Regions from separate parts of the Homo sapiens genome. Here region 2 is linked to region 1. The links are contacts of gene promoters, found by promoter capture Hi-C in blood cells and fetal thymus (Javierre and others, 2016). All regions are on one chromosome and are shown on one strand. The core of a region is centred on a gene start or on the middle of the fragment in contact, and the rest is flanking DNA. Distances in the headings are between cores, read along the strand shown.

Evidence for each region. The method cuts DNA at HindIII sites, captures the fragments that hold promoters and counts their contacts. A CHiCAGO score of 5 or more calls a contact.
Region 2: a contact is called between a fragment that was not itself captured here and the fragment with the promoter of HNRNPK-AS1 in region 1, in 5 of 17 cell types (naive CD4 T cells, total CD8 T cells, M1 macrophages and 2 more). The highest score is 7.8, in naive CD4 T cells.

Annotation. Positions count from the first base shown.
Region 1 is chr9:83,970,845-83,973,544 of GRCh38, forward strand. It overlaps HNRNPK-AS1 (HNRNPK antisense RNA 1), which reads left to right and starts at 1,251. Exons shown (of 2, transcript NR_186535.1): 1 at 1,251-1,433. HNRNPK (heterogeneous nuclear ribonucleoprotein K) reads right to left here. Exons shown (of 17, transcript NM_031263.4): 9 at 2,442-2,555; 10 at 2,000-2,128; 11 at 1,038-1,345; 12 at 828-882; 13 at 429-512; 14 at 53-68. The HindIII fragment of the contact is 2,844 bases long and covers 1-2,105 here.
Region 2 is chr9:84,172,405-84,175,839 of GRCh38, forward strand. No RefSeq gene overlaps it. Among named protein-coding and RNA genes, the nearest start is that of SLC28A3-AS1, 100 kb to the right of the region's middle. RefSeq lists an enhancer at 575-1,084. The HindIII fragment of the contact is 1,143 bases long and covers 1,060-2,202 here.

The sequences.
Region 1 (2,700 bases), core at 1-2,500:
TCATTTAAAAAGTATGAAATTAATGTTTGACTTCACAAAGGAGAGAACTTACCATATCCGGAGCCACCCTAAAAACAGAAAGAAAAAAATAGAAAATTACTTTGCCGTTGTAATTACTACCGGTACTTTAAAAAAATTCATTTAATAAAATGGAGTCTTGCTATGTTGCCCAGGCTGGTCTCAAACTCTCGGGCTCAAGTGATCCTCCTGCCTCAGACTCTTTTGTAGTTGGGATTATGAGTGAGCACCACTGCACCCAGCTTCACTATTCAAGTATTTTAATCTCATAAAATCCCTCTTCAGGAAACCAAAGTCCTCCTGTATCCTATTTTCAGTAAGTATCCTCAGGGGAATAAAAAACTTACTGGAGAGCAGGTAAGCATCTTAAATTATCACTGATATACACACGAACAACTATGATACTCAACCTGTGGTTCATAAGCCATCTGCCATTCTGATGGGCTCCATGTATCTATTGCAGAGTCCCAAGTTTCATCAGCACTGAAACCAACCTGTTAGAGATAAAAACATTAACATGAACCCGCATTGTATTTTGTTATAGAGCTGTTTTTAATATGCCTAATTTGCATGTTACATTAAAACAAAAGAGGGTACATATATAGGCAGCAATTTTGTAATCGAGGGGAACAAAGCTCAATAAAGTCGTAATCCTCCAGCAGCAAATAACAGAATTATTTAACTAGTAATCCAAACAAAATTTACTTGTAAGAAAAACTTTTTAATCACTATAACCTTCAACAAAACGTGAACTACATTGTGACAACCCTCACATACCCAACACACTGGTAATAAACCAAAGTTCTTACCATGCCGTCGTAACGGTCTCCAGGTCTCCCTCTTCTGTCATAGGCCATGAGGTCTCTGCAAGCATAGTACTTGTTGTAATCTAAACGTGCTTACATGCCACACATATCAAATCAAAGTCTACCTTGTCTACCACTAAGTGCAGCCTCTTGCAGGTTAATAATTCATAGATGGGGGAAGAAAAAACAACAACAACAAAAAAAACAACTTACCCCCCTCTAGGTGGTGGTGGTGGAGGAAGAGGAAGATTCCGAGCTCTGCTACCACCCCGGCCGCCTCGTCCGGGAGGAGGGGGAGGTGGTCCTCGACGAGGGCTCATATCATCATAATCTCTTCTAGATGGAGGCATGGGACGCCCACCCCGACCAGGAGGCATTCTGTCAAAACCACCTCTTCCCCGCATGGGAAATCCCACTGGGCGTCCGCGACGGTCATCAAACATCATTGTAAAACCACCATAATCATAGGTTTCATCGTAAAAATTGGGATCATAAGGCTGTGCACGTCCTTTGATGGGAGACTAAAAACAGAGATGGAACAAACTTACAGACTGAAGAAAAAGAGTCCTGCTTCATACCAATCCTTCTAACATCATCATCAAACAAAATGTAAGTCATTCCCCCATCAGGAGGTACTAGAGACAGAAACAGGAATTATGTCAACGCTAAAAGTAGCAAAGTAAAGATTCCAAAGAAATCCAATACTTTTGGCAAATGCTAAACAAAAGTGAGTTCTATTGCCTATACAGGGAGAAGTAATAGCTTGCTCTTACACTTAGATCGTAAGAAACCACAAAGCCCTCCCATTTTACACATGACAAACTACAATGCACATTTCACAACAAGGGCTGAAGAGATCAGTCTTGGCAAGCCTGTAATCCATACTGAGGCACCTGAGATAGGAAGCCCTGCAGCATAGTTACAAAGACACAAGCAACACTATAGGAAATTCATTCAAAGGCTCAAAGGCTATAGAAATACCACCAACAAATTACCACTCTCCACTTTTTCAAAACCATTTTTAAATTAAAGTGATGGCTGAAGCCAGGTGATAGAAAATTGCTAGGGAAAGGGCAAATAAAGACTATTAGACTAAATGCTCTGAAGCTACTTTTGCAGAAGGTTATCACTTTGTTTCATAAAATCAAATGTAAACAAAAAGTGTTCTGAAGTACCTCAGATATAAGATCAAGGATGATCTTTATGCACTCTACAACCCTATCGGGTTTTCCTCCAATAAGAACAACTCTGTCAGTGGAATGAGGACAGCATTCCTGGAAAAGCTTGATGGTGGTTTGAGTGTTCTGTAGTAAGATCATAAAAAAAAATAATAATAATTAGAAGAAAATTAGCTTTCCTAGGTTCAGTGAAAATTGCATTTGAATTCAACAATTAACCCCCCACAATATAAAAACTTCATTAATTATCACAGGGCTTTGCAATGGTATAAAAATTTTGACAAAATAACATGTCTAGCAGTGCCAGACATTTTTTGTCATTTGCGATAAGCAATCTTTGGAGGGAACTGAGAGGGGAAGCGAGAGAAGCTCACAGAAACAAGTCTATATGAAAATTTACTTTCCAGCAAAGAATACGGCAGAATTTTTTTTTTTTTACCTCTCGAAGTTCTTTGATTTTAGCACCTTTGACCCCAATAATTCCTCCTGCTAGACTCTGATGAATCAACAGCCTCAACTCGCAGTCAAAGTCACTTCCTTTATAGTGTTGGTACTGTGGAGGGAGAATTATAAAATTTTAGTCTCAAATCAACAATTCCCCAATACACACTTATCTGCTATAAGCATAACAATAATATACTGTTGCAGTGAGCAACCTGAATTTATATTTCAATAACTTTACCAGTTATGTGCTTATT
Region 2 (3,435 bases), core at 381-2,880, 200 kb after region 1:
CACCTTACTTTGAGAAGAAAGGATGAAGTGGAGGGGGAGGAGTTTCAAAAGGAGATCTATTTGTGGAGGGGACGTTTTCTGACATTAAAAAATTATAATATGTAGCTAGATGCCTACTCCACCTGACCAAATTGTCCTCTTATGCTAAAAAACATTGGTTTCAGGTCCTTTGTATAGGATTGTCCAACATGCAGCATATATCCTAATGGTGGGATGCAAGATGTATTAGGTAGTTGAAGCAGATATGGTTAGTGCCCTAAGCAAACTACCTAGGCACTTGCAGTTCCTCGCTGTGCTGATGGCTTCTGTTTTTTGTTTGTTTGTTTTTTGAGACGGAGTCTCGCTCTGTCACCAGGCTGGAGTGCAGTGGCGCAATCTCGGCTCACTGCAATCTCCGCCTCCCGGGTTCAAGCGATCCTCCTACCTCAGCCTCTCGAGTAGCTGGGACTACAGGCGCCCGCCACCATGCCGAGCTAATTTTTTGTATTTTTAGTAGAGACGGGGTTTCACCATGTTGGTCAGGAAGGTCTTGATCTCTTGACCTCGTGATCCGCCCACCTCGGCCTCCCAAAGTGTTGGGATTACAGGCGTGAGCCACCGCGCCCGGCCCGGCCTGTGCTGACGGCTTCTTAACTGCAAATGTCTGTAACTCAGATTGCAGGAGCTGGCTTGCCCACCTTCACAGCGGGCCTGCAGTGGTAGGAGTTAATGGTCACATCCACGAGAGTAGCTTTCAAAGAATGACGAAGGGAAGATGGTGGGTAAAACTCTGAGGCTCATTCTCCAGCTTTCTTAGGGGGTCCGCAGGGATGCAACCCCAAAGACCGTAATGCTCCCTGGATTGACTTTCCTCTCTTCACACTTATTTCCCCGGCCCCCTAGTGGTGCTTCTTGGGAACACCTCTCAAATAGATGATTTGTACTCTAGTCCTAGTCTCAACCCAACCTAAAACAATGGCACATGGGCACATACTTTTATTTTAATGGCCATGTGTTTTAACATGTATTAGAAAAAATATAAATTGCACACCGTATCTGTGATTTCATGGATATTAGTGAAGCTTAAGTTTCAAAAGTGAGTCAATTTAAACCGAAGTGGAAAGTAATGGTATTCGGGTATTTGACAAATCACAAAGGGAGAGTGTGAATGGGGGATAATTGTATTAGAGCTTGAGGTTACCTGTAAACTGGAGCGCTTCCAGCTTTCTGGAATAAACTCAAGGACACTGGTCCTTAATTCAGTGTTCCTGAAAAGACTCCCAGGGGCTCACCAGCCCTTGAGAGATTATGCAAAGTTTTATGTATTTGGATCCTCTTCCTCCCAAAAGTTCATTTGCCTTAGTCTTAGAAAGGCATATTTCACTCAAAGTCAAGAGAGAGAGAGAGAGAGGAAAAAAAAAAGGAAGGAAGAGAGGGAGAGGGGGAGGACAGGCAGACACTCTGTTTTTCTATTTTATTAATGTAATTCAGATCTCTGTTTCTGTTGCAAAAAAGCAAAAAATAAAACAAAGGAGAGGAATGAGGAGATGGAGCCCTGATCCAAATAACAACAACAACAAAAAAAGTGTCTGTAGAATTGGGTTACTGGATGACTTCGGGGAGATGAGCTATCCATCACCACCCGCATCCTCAATAAAAAAACCTGGAAATATCTTCTGAGGATTTTTGCTTGTTAGGAAGGATGGCTATAGCCCAAGAGCAGCATCTGTATACAATGAGTGAAAAAATATTTGGTAACAAAGATCCATTAAACACCCAAATCTACCAAGTATCAGATGGCAAGATAAATGAGATTTTTGTACATGCAAAGCAAATTTTATATAAACAATAACCAAGGCAGTTCCTGTTGCTTCATAAAGCAGGACTTCTGTTAATAGCAGAAACAGCAAATACAGAAAACCAAGCCAATGCATTTTAATGCCTGATTTTGATGCATTAAAAAAATCAAGAAATTCAACAATTCACAGCCAATTGTATATTCATGCCACCCAGACTGAATTAGGATTAGAATCAGCTGTGAGCAACAGAAAATCCAAAATAATGAGTGGTGGAACAAAGATGGAAATTTATTTTTTTCATGTGAAAGTCTGAGTAAATGGTCTAGGGGCTGGTGTGATTATTCATAATACCAGGGAACATTGAATGGCTTCTCCAGTTCAAGCCATCATGTCCCCATTCCAGCCAGCAGAAAGGAGGAAAAGAAGCTTCCCTATAAGGACACTTCTGTGATGTTGCATACACCACTTCCTCTTACATTTCTTTGCCTAGAACTTAATAACTTGACCACACCTATCTGCAAGAGAGGGTAAGAAATGCAGTTATTATTCTGGGAGTTCATATGCTCAGCTAAAAATTCTCTTGCTGTGGAAGAAGAGAATAGATATTGGGTAATACCAGCAGTCTCATCTACCCAGATTTCGTACATATTGGTAGTTCTAAGTAGTTAACTTTGGCATGATACTCAACTGTAAGTCTTATTTAATGTGTCAATGAAATTGCTTGACCCTAATCACCCAGTTTTTAAAGCTGCCTCTAATTAAATCTTTTCTGACATCCACAAATAAAGCATATTTTTCATTTTGAGTATCTGTCTACTTGATGCTGGACAAAATTCGGCCCACCTAGAATAGCAGGTATAGTTTGTGGGTTATCGAAACCCTTTGTTCTCTCTCCTTTTCTGTTCAACATACTTGTGGCCACTTTCCCATTAGTTAAAGTCTGAAATAGAGAAAGAAAGATTTAAAAAAGAAATAAAGTCTAATCAGATGTTTTGTTCCTTTTCAGCAACATTTCTCCAGGGCTAAAGTAGAAGAGATTAGAAATAAGTAACATTAAGTTTTGGGATTTATCTGTCATAAAAACAGTCCTTTAGGCCAGTTGATGAGCAAAGCCCTTTTCACTGCCATCTGTAATTGTGGCTGCAGCCCTGTGAAGAAGGCAGTGTCATCTCCACTTGAGCGAAGAGATGAAACTTACCAGACAAAGCAGTTATTAAAGGGCAAAGCCAGGATTTTCACTGGGGTCTCTCTGACCCCCAAAACTCTGCTCTTTTGACTGCTCCACCCACAGAGTCCCTCCTGCCATGAGTCTTTTAAGCATCATTATCTCCAGTGGAGAGAAAGTTTTTACATGAACATTGGCTGAGACTAAAAGCAGGCCTTGGAGACATAAACAAACTGAAGAGGTTCAGAAAGTGCTCGTCAGCCTGCTCCTTGTGGTCTGTCTGCCCTCCCAGATTTTGAGTTTTGTTATTAGGAGGCACTTGATATTTACAGAGTGGCATCTGGGACTCGCAGCCCCAGGTGGAATGCAGAAGATGGGGCAGAGTGCCCTCTCTGCAGAACACTTGAAAAGAGCGAGGATGGTTTCAGGACAGTGTTTCCTTGGCCTCTCATCCTGCAGTGCTGGAGAGAGAAAGTCACTGAGGTAGACGGC